Linked DNA regions of Homo sapiens: region 1 is linked to region 2. The links are contacts of gene promoters, found by promoter capture Hi-C in blood cells and fetal thymus (Javierre and others, 2016). All regions are on one chromosome and are shown on one strand. Each heading gives the region's core, a stretch centred on a gene start or on the middle of the fragment in contact. The rest is flanking DNA. Distances are from core to core; before and after follow the strand shown. Region 1 overlaps UIMC1 (ubiquitin interaction motif containing 1). Region 2 holds the start of MXD3 (MAX dimerization protein 3).

Region 1 (4,722 bases), core at 1,029-3,528, 310 kb after region 2:
GACAGTCTCTTCAATAGATAGTGCTTAGAAAACTGGATATCTATATGCAGAAGAATGAAACTAGGCCTCCATCTCTTGCCATATACAAAAATCAAATAAAAATGTATTAAATGTATTAAATCTAAGACCTCAAACTATGAAATTACTACAAGAAAACTTTGGGGAAACTCTCTAGGACATTGGTCTGGGCAAAAACTTCTTGAGTAATATCCCATAACCACAGGCAACCAAAGCAAAAATGGACAAATGGGATCACATGAAGTTAAAAAGCTTCTGCACAGCAAAGGAAACAATAAAGTGAAGAGACAACCCACAGGATAGGAGAAAATATTTGCAAACTACCCATCTGACAAAGGATTAATAACCGGAATGTATAAGGAACTCAACTCTATAGGAAAAAAAATCTAATAATCCAATTTAAAAAATGGGCAAAAGATTTGAATAGACATTACTCCAAAGAAGACATGCAGGCTGGGCACGGTAGCTCAGGCTTGTAATCCCAGCACTTTGGGAGTCCGAGGCAGGTGGATCACCTGAGGTCGGGAGTTCGAGACCAGCCTGACCAACATAGAGAAACCCCATCTCTACTGAAAATGCAAAATTAGCCGGGCGTGGTGGTGCATGCCTGTAATCCCAGCTACTCAGGAGGCTGAGGCAGGAGAATCACTTGAACCTGGGAGGCAGAGTTTGCAGTGAGCCGAGATTGTGCCATTGCACTCCAGCCTGGGCAATAAGAATGAAACTCCATCTCAAAAAAAAAAAAAAAAAAAGACATGCAAGTGGAAAACAGGCATATGAAAAGGCGTTCAACATTATTGGTCATCAGAGAAATGCAAGTCACAACTACAGTGAAATATCTCACCCCAGTTAAAATGGCTTATATCCAAAAACACGTAATAGGAAATGCTGGCAAGGATGTGGGGTAAAGGGAACCCTTGTACACTGTTGGTGGGAATGTAAACTAGTACCAGCACTATGGAGAACAGTTTGGCGTTTCCTCAAAAAACTAAAAGTATGCCGGGCGCGGTGGCTTATGCCGGTAATCCCAGCACTTTGGGAGGCCGAGGCGGCGGATCATGAGGTCAGATTGAGACCATCCTGGCTAACACGGTGAAACCCCGTCTCTCCTAAAAATGTAAAAAAATTAGCCAGGTGTGGTGGCGGGCGCCTGTATCCCAGCTACTCGGGAGGCTGAGGCAAGAGAATGGTGTGAACCCGGGAGGTGGAGCTTGCAGTGAGCTGAGATGGCACCACTGCACTCCCGCCTGGGTGACAGAGCGAGACTCCATCCCAAAAAAGAAAACAAAACAACTAAAAGTAGAGCTATCGTATGATCCAGCAGTCCCACTGCTGGGTATGTATCCAAAAGAAAGGAAATCAGTATATTGAAGAGATATCTGCACTCCCAGGTTTGTTGTAGCACTATTTACAATAGCCAAGATATGGAATCAATCTGTGTCCATCAACAGATGAATGGATAAAGAAAATATGGTACTTATACATAATGGAGTACTATTCAGCCATAAAAATGAATGAGATCCTGTCATTTGTAACAACATGGGTGAAACTGGAGGTCATTATGTTAAGTGAAATAAGCCAGGCACAGAAAGACAAACATTGCATGTTCTCACTTATTTGTGGGATCTAAAAATCAAAACAGTTGAGCTAATGGAGATAGTAGAAGGATGGTTACTAGAGGTTGGGAAGGGTAGTGGGGGATGGTGGGGAGGTGGGGATGGTTAGTGGGTACCAAAAAAAAAAATAGAATCAATAAGACCCAGTATTTGATAGCACAATAGGATGACTTATAGTCAATAATAATGTAATTGTACATTTTAAAATAGTATAATTGTATTGTTTGTAACACAAGGATAAATGCTTGAGGGGATGGATACCTTATTTTGTATGATCTGACTATTACATATTGTGTACCTGTAACAAAGCATCTCATGTATCCCATAAATATATGCACCTATGTACCCACAAAAATTAAATTTAATAAAATGTATAAGACTTATATGCTAAAAACTAAAATGTATGTTAGAAAACTTAAAAATACTGCAAGATTTTTTTGAGGATTATTATTATTATTTTTTCTGAGACAGGATCTTGCTCTGTCACTCAGTCTGGAGTGACTGCAGCCTTGATCTCACGGGCACAAGTTATCTCCCACCTCAGTCTCCTGAGTAGCTGGGACTACAGGTATGCAACACCATGCCTGACTGATTTTTAATTTTTTTTTGTAGGGACGGGGTCTTGCTGTGTTGCCCAGGCTGGTCTCAAACCCCCTAGCTCAAACAGTCCTCCTGCCTTGGCCACCCAGAGTGCTGGAATTACAGGCGTGAGACACTGCACCCAGCCTGAGCATTATTTTTAAATTATAAAATGAGCGCAGACTTGTAGGAATTTTGAATAAAGGAGAAAAATACGTATACATTCACTACACTAAATTATTCCAAGGTTTGTATAATTTTTTGTTTTGTTTTGTTTTTGTTTTTTTTGAGACGGAGTTTTGCTCTTATTGCCCAGGCCAGAGTGCAATGGCATGATCTTGGCTCACCGCAACCTCCACCGCCCGGGTTCAAGCGATTCTCCTGCCTCAGCCTCCTGAGTAGCTGGGATTACAGGCATGCACCACCACGCCTGGCTAATTTTGTATTTTTAGTAGAGACAGGGTTTCTCCATGTCTGTCAGGCTGGTCTCGAACTCCTGACCTTAGGTGATCCGCCCGCCTTGGCCTCCCAAAGTGGTAGGATTACAGGCGTGAGCCACTGTACCCAGACTTTTTTTTTTTTTTTTTTTGAGACAGAGTCTTGCTCTGTCGTCCAGGCTGGAGTGCAGTGGTGGCGCAATCTCAGCTTAGTGCAACCTTTGCCTCCTGGGTTCAAGTGATTCTTGTGCCTGAGCCACTCGAGTACCTGAGATTACAGACATGTGCCACCATGCCCAGCTAATTTTTGTATTTTTAGTAGAGATGGGGTTTCACCACGTTGGCCAGGGTGGTCTCGAACTCCTGACCTCAGATGATCTGCCGAAAGTGCTGGGATTACAGGGGTGAACCACTGCAAATAAGTATTTATTGATCCCCTATCATTTGCCACAGCATTTGGTAGGTGCTGGGACTGTTTCTTCCTTGCCTTCCTTAAGGCTATAGTCCATTGAGAAAGACAGACATTTCTTTCTCGATGAAAAATCACGCAAATGAGTGTGTAATTAAAACTGTGTTAACTGATTTTGACAGGTGCATGGTACTTTGAAAATGTATAGTAGAGGTATTTGACCAATCTGGGGAGCCAAGAAAGATTTCTCTGAGAAAGTTATTCTTCTGAAGGATGAGAAGGAATTAACTAGGTGAAGGGGAATGTTGGGGAATCTTCCATTCATAAGAAGCAAGTATAGAGGCCTCATGACATTAAAGGAGTATGGCTGGGGCTTAAGAACTGTGAGAGAGCTTAGAAAGAGCAATCTGGCAGGAGGGCAGATAATACGGGACATACTTTGTAGACTATGTTAAGAGCAAAAATGTCCTAACTATAAAAATAGTGGGAAACCATTGAAATGGGTTTTTTTTTTTTTTTTTTTTTGAGACAGAGTCTCGCTCTGTTGCCCAGACTGGAGTGCAGTGGTGCAATCTCTGCTCACTGCAAGCTCCGTCTCCTGGGTTCACGGCATTCTCCTGCCTCAGCCTCCTCAGTAGCTGGGACTACAGGGGCCCGCCACCACGCCCGGCTAATTTTTTTGTAATTTTAGTAGAAACGGGGTTTCACTGTGTGAGCCAGGATGGTCTCGATCTCCTGACCTTGTGATCCGCCTGCCTCGGCCTCCCAGAGTGCGGGATTACAGGTGTGAGCCACCGTGCCCGGCCTGAAATGTTTTAAGTAGTGGAGTACTTTAAGATTTGCAGTTGAAAAGAAAACAGCTTTGGTGTGTAGAGATTGGAGGGGAACGGTGGTAAAAGTAAGGAACCCAGTTATGAGTCTGTTAAAATTGTCTACACGAGAGTTGTTGGTAGCTTGGATGGTGATAGTGGTGAAAATGAAAAGAAATGGAGAGCTTAAAGAGAGGTATAGGAGGTGAAATCAGTTGCACATAAGGATGAATTGGATATGAAAAATGAGGGAAAGAGAGTTAAAGATAACATCTTGGTTCTGTACAGGGCTGGAAGGTGTGTACTAGCTTTCAAGTCTGCCCCAACTCTTTTCTCAGGGCTCTCAAATTTGTGTGTGTGTGTGTGTGCGCACGCGTGCACATAGATCCCGCTGAGCAGGGTTATGTAGGAAGCTTGGGCCTATTGTGGTCTCTGCTGTGCATTTCAACAGCCTCTGACCATTCTGGGATATTTTGAGAGTTTATGAATCCTCCTATGGCTGTCTTATTTCATGGAGCTTCCTGATAAATCTCTGACTCATCTTCTCATTTGTTGCTTGTCTCAGGTAAGACCCAATGGCAGGCAATTGGCCACTAAGATTGGAGTAACGATACTCCACATCTCATCTGTTCCCTTCAGCTGTTGCAGTGCAGTGGTTGGTACTCATATTCTGTCCTTCCCTGGTTAAACTACTGGACTCATAGTTCAACCTGTGATTTGAACTGAGGAGTAGGGTACTGAATAGGGGAGTTGATCCTAGGTGTGAATCACAGAGACTCATGGTATTCTTACCCAAAGTTCAGTCGTTTTCATGAGTGAACATTTCTTAGTTTGTTTTATGCTTTTGGTCAGTT
Region 2 (5,234 bases), core at 1,143-3,642:
CAGACTGGAGGCCAGGCCACCTAGGGCCCAGACATCTGAGTAGGTTCGTGTCTGCACTGCATGGTGCTGACTTTAGTGAAATAAAATTGGAAATTCATTCACAACCCTTGCGGCTCCTTCCTTCAGAGATGGCTGATTGCAGGGGGGAGTTTGGGGGAACCCATCAGCATGTTCTGGGCCCTGCAGCCTCTCCAGTGTCAGCCTGCACCAGGCTATTTGCTCTCTGTAAGCCACACCGCCCCTGCCATGCTCCTTTCAGCCCCAGGGCCTTTGCATGTGCTGTTCCTTTGTCTAGAATTCTTTCATCTCTCCTATACTTAGATAACACCTCTTCATCCATTTCCCCAGTAAAGCCTTCTCTGGCCTCACCAATTAGGTCAAATGTTCCTTAGAATGTGTTGTGGGGCATGGTCTCTCCCTGTGAGGACCTGTCCAGCTGGACCTCCGCCTTCCTGCGACTGTATTGGTGTCTTTCCCTCTCAAGCCTATGAGCTCTGCAAGGGCAGGGACCCTGTATGATTTTGCCTATCGTATGTCCTCCAGCCCCCAGCACAGCGCCTGGTGTCCAGTGAGAGCTCAGCAAATACTTTGTGAGTTAAGGACAGGCGGCTGGGTAGATGGATCGTCTGCCTAGACAGGGCAGTTATTCCGCTGTGAGCAACTCTTAGAGAAACTTCATTTTTTTTCGGCGCCTGGCCGAAACTTCAAGATGTTTCCCGGCCAGGAACGGTGGCTCACACCTGTAATCCCAGCACTTTGGGAGGCTGAGGTGGGTGGATCACCTGAGGTCAGGAGTTCGAGACCAGCCTGGCCAACACGGTGAAACCCCGTCTCTACTAAAAATACAAAAATTAGCTGGGTGTGGTGGTGGGCGCTTGTAGTCTCAGCTACTTGGGAGGCTGAGGCAGGAGAATTGCTTGAACCCGGGAGGCGGAGGTTGCAGTGAGTCGAGACTGAGCCATTGCGCTTCAGCCTGGGCAACAGAGCAAGACTCAAAAAAAAAAAAAAGATTTTTCCCAAGGAACTGAGGCCTGACTGACATGTGCTTGTGTTTACCAGGACTGTCTCTTTACAGAGCATCTATCCCTCCCACCTTCCCTCCCCTCTCTATTTTGGGATTACTGGAGTCACAGACTCAGCCCGTGGCTGGCAGCAATGCTCCACCCTGCTACAGCTGCGTTCATCTTCCTGTCCCCAGATGTGGCCCCACCTGCTGGTGCTGAGGCTAGAAGTCATCACAGCCACTCCTTCGGCCGGCTAGGAGAGTCAGGTGCAAGAAGGGTTTATGGACTCTGAGTAAGGCAAGCAGGGGCTGCCTGGGAGGCAAACGCCGCGGTCTGGTTGCACTGGCCTTTGAGATGGGCGGCTCCTTCATGCCATGGGCACCGCAGAGGCATTGGCTCTGATCCTTCAACGCTGTCGCAGGGCTCCTGAGGCTTAGAGACGGAGGTCACCTCCTGAGTCATACACAGCTGAGACATCAGTGACAGGAGAGGACCCCAACTGCGTGGATACCAGAGCCCAAGGCCCCGGAAAAGGCCATTTCGCGTGCCTCCAGGGTATGGCCTGCCTGAGGAAGCTGTTACCCCACTGACGTTTTCGTAGCAACAACAGCTTCCTCACAGAAGAGGAGGGGGGCCGAGATATTATTCCCATTCGACACAGTAGGAAGCTGGGGCCCACGGGGGCCTTCGGGGGCAGATGGCAGGCAGGCTTGGGGACAGACCCCGGAGGGCAGGAGCCGGGTCCGCCGCCCCTCCGCCGGCGCCTGCGCATTGAGGCCCAGCTCCCCTCTCAACCCCGCCCCATCGCTTGGGTTTTCAAATTTGAAACCTGCTTCTTTTCCCGCCCGAACGTGTGGATCAGCGGCGGGAGAGGGCGGGGCAGAGCGCCAGCCAATAGGGCATCAGAGGCTCCCCGACCCCGCCCCGAGGATGACAACAGCGATCCTTGAGAAGCCATGTGCGAATGGGCGAGCGGCGGCCGGAGGCCCCGCCCCCGCGGCACCCACGTGCAGCGGCTGGGCCCGGCGCTTTCAGGGGACCACCAGGCCCCCAGAGCGCCGTGCTATGTTGGGGGCTAGTCACTAGCACGGGGCTGGAAGCTGAGATCAAAGACGCCAATGAGCCGGCGTGGGTGGATGAGTGAGGCGGGCAAGAAGCAGCACCGGTTAGCCTGAGGGTTCGCTCCAGGGCCAGGCCTGGAGCCAGCGCCCTTACCTGCCCCTGGAAAGTCTGAGACCACTCGGGGCGGGGCGGCTGCCGGAGGGTGGGCTGCGGCTCCGTGGCGGGTTCCAGAGGGGCGGAGCCAAGGGCTGGGCGTTCCCGCGGGCGGGGCGTCCCGGGGGCGGGGCGGGCCCCTGTGTTTGTTGCACCGTGTCAGTTACTTTGTAACAAAAGTGCTGCAGCCGCTTGCTCCGGCCGGCACCCTAGGCCGGCCCGCCGCCAGCTGTCGCCGACATGGAACCCTTGGCCAGCAACATCCAGGTCCTGCTGCAGGCGGCCGAGTTCCTGGAGCGCCGTGAGAGAGGTGAGGAAGGACCCTTGGCTGAATTCCGGGCGGCGACCTCGCTGACACGGGCCTGGACTGGACCTGGCTCCCAGCTTGAAGGATGCACCGCCCTAGGACAGTAATCCCGGGGCGCCTCGCCCTCAACTCGAGAGGAGTCCCGGGGCGGTAGAGCAGGGACGGGTGGGGGAAATGGTCCTGGCGCCAAAAGCCTTTCCTTGACCGTGCTGTGCCTGGGGCTGCCGCTGGGACCAGGTCCAGCCCCAGCCTGACGCGGGCGGGGACTCTCTCTGGCAGAGGCCGAGCATGGTTATGCGTCCCTGTGCCCGCATCGCAGTCCAGGCCCCATCCACAGGAGGAAGAAGCGACCCCCCCAGGCTCCTGGCGCGCAGGACAGCGGGCGGTGAGGAGGCCGGGGGCGGCGGGAGTGGGGGTGGGGGTGGGCGCCGCCCCTGGTCGGGCCCTCCTCTGCCCACTTGTTGCTTGCATCTTTTGGGCCAGGTGTCCCGCTCCAGGAAGCGTTCAGACCCCTCCTGCCATCTCCCCACTCTCCAAACACACTCACACCTTTCTATTCATTCAAGGACTATTTCTTGAGCACCTCTAGATGTGCCGGGAACTGCCAACAGCAGTTGGGGTCCCGCTTCCACTCGCACTCCCGCACCCCACACATCAGGCCACTCACCTCCCCCGCTGGCTTCCTCCTCTTCTCTCCTCTCCCCAGCCCTTTGCATATGCTGTTCCCTCCTATTTGAATGCCCCTCCCTCCAGTACCGGCTTGGGAAACATCTGTTTCCGCAGTTAGCTGTCACCTCTGGGAGGTCCTTTCTGGCCAGCTGGCAGGCGCCCTTGTTAGGGCCCTCATACCCACCTGGGCAGGCTTCTGTTAAGCATTTGGCTCCGTGTGTCTTTGACTCCCCTCGCCCTGCCAGGGGACTCTGGTGTCTGAGGCCAGCATGAGCTCTCCACAGGGGACTTGTTTGGGGCAGACATCTGTAGTGGCTCTTGAGCCACTGGGGGCCCTGGGATTGGGGCATGGGCAGTAGCTGATTCCCCTTCACCTCATCCTCTCTGGCATTGGCAGGTCAGTGCACAATGAACTGGAGAAGCGCAGGTGAGTCCCAGTCCTGCCCTGACAGCGCCAGCCCCCAGGGGCCACTGCCCTCTGGCCTTCCCTCCCCTGCCATTCCTGTGGCCGGCAAGGTGGGGCTGGCACTGCCCTCCAGACCTCTTCCCCACAGGAGGGCCCAGTTGAAGCGGTGCCTGGAGCGGCTGAAGCAGCAGATGCCCCTGGGGGCCGACTGTGCCCGGTACACCACGCTGAGCCTGCTGCGCCGTGCCAGGATGCACATCCAGGTGAGGCCCCCCACTGCGCCCGGACTGGCTTGCCCTGGTGTATGGAGGGCTGTGCTATGGAGGGGCTGGTGGGACTGGGGAACGAGACCTGAGGTCAGAGCTCAAGAACTGTGTGACTTAGGACAGCTCTCTGAGCTTTTACTTTCCAGATCCATTAAATGGGAAGAAAAGCAGACAATAACTCAGAGGGTTGTTGAGGCTTAAATGAGTTCACTCTATAAATGTTCACTGTTGCTGTTACAGCTGTTATCACTTAGATCACAGCTGTGAGACCTTGGGCAGGTTACTTAGCCTGTCTGGACTAACCTTCCCTCCTGTTTGAGGGGAGGGGATGGCTGTTGAATTCTGTGATGGGATGTATGTGGGGGTCCTTGGGACTGTAGAGGGTTGGTCCTTGCTCTCCCCCTCTCACCTTCAAGGCCTCCTGTTATGGGCAGTCTATCCTGGTGCCACCTGGGAGGCAGCTCCAGGGACAGGAGGGGAAAGGACTGAGAAGACGCCAGTCACTGGTCCTCCCAGGGCTCCTGCTGCTGCTGGGGCTGAGCTCAGTGCCCCCTGGTGGACAGGAGTGGATGTGCTGAATAAAGGCCCAGGTGGCCCTGGCCATGTCAGAAGTGGCCTTGGAAACCACAGGACTTTTCCTGCCCTCTAGAGGAATACATGAAGGCACAGCTAGGCTGAGGGCCAACAAGTTGCACAGCTGATGGGCGGCAGATTCAGGACCCATGCCCAGTTCCCTGGCTTGCGTTATCTCCTCTGACAAGTGTTTACTGAGCACTGGTTCTGCTAGGCCCTATTCTAGGCACTGGGGGCTGTGGCACACAAAGACCTATGCGCTGTTAGTAAATAAACCACAGCTGCGGGAACAGCTGCACTGCCGCCCGGCGTCTGTTATTACCATCATTGTGGCTGAGTAACACTCTGGTTGGGTAGTGGCCCAGTTTCTCACACGGAGCTTGCCTGGCCTGGTTCTCGGATGGATGATGTGTGCCCCTCAGGGGCTGGCTGGCCTGTGGGCAGGACCTGGGCAGTGCTCCTTCTCTGGGGCTCCATCACCCCTCTCCTGGATTAATTCACCGGCCTCCTCCCAGCCTTCCTGTTACCTGTTTTGCCTCCACCAGGCTGTCTTCTACTTTGCTCTAGAATGATCTCTGCAGCACACCTATCTACCCAGGCCCATCTCCTGCTGAAAACCCACCAGTGGCCCCTGACAGGACAAAGCCTCTGCTCCCCTTCCTTCCTGTGAAACTCAAGGCCCTTCATAACCCAGGACTTGCCAGTAGGCTGCTCTTTTGGCCTCATCTCTCCCTGTGCCCCACAGAAGCTGAATGCTCTGTGCTCTTCCCAGGCTCCCTCTGCTGTGTCTTGAC

Evidence for each region. The method cuts DNA at HindIII sites, captures the fragments that hold promoters and counts their contacts. A CHiCAGO score of 5 or more calls a contact.
Region 1: a fragment that was not itself captured here is called in contact with the fragment with the promoter of MXD3 in region 2 in 1 of 17 cell types (monocytes); the score reaches 5.3 in monocytes.

The regions. Positions count from the first base shown.
Region 1 is chr5:176,996,547-177,001,268 of GRCh38, reverse strand. All of the region lies in intron 1 of UIMC1 (ubiquitin interaction motif containing 1), which reads left to right. Among named protein-coding and RNA genes, the nearest start is that of UIMC1, 7.9 kb to the left of the region's middle. The HindIII fragment of the contact is 4,011 bases long and covers 273-4,283 here.
Region 2 is chr5:177,309,056-177,314,289 of GRCh38, reverse strand. MXD3 (MAX dimerization protein 3) reads left to right here and starts at 2,392. Exons shown (of 6, transcript NM_031300.4): 1 at 2,392-2,529; 2 at 2,806-2,911; 3 at 3,593-3,622; 4 at 3,750-3,864. The coding sequence starts at 2,460. RefSeq lists enhancers at 1,258-1,317, 2,968-3,167, 3,425-4,291, 4,538-4,587, 4,658-4,727 and silencers at 1,538-2,107, 2,238-2,417. The HindIII fragment of the contact is 10,591 bases long and covers 1-5,234 here.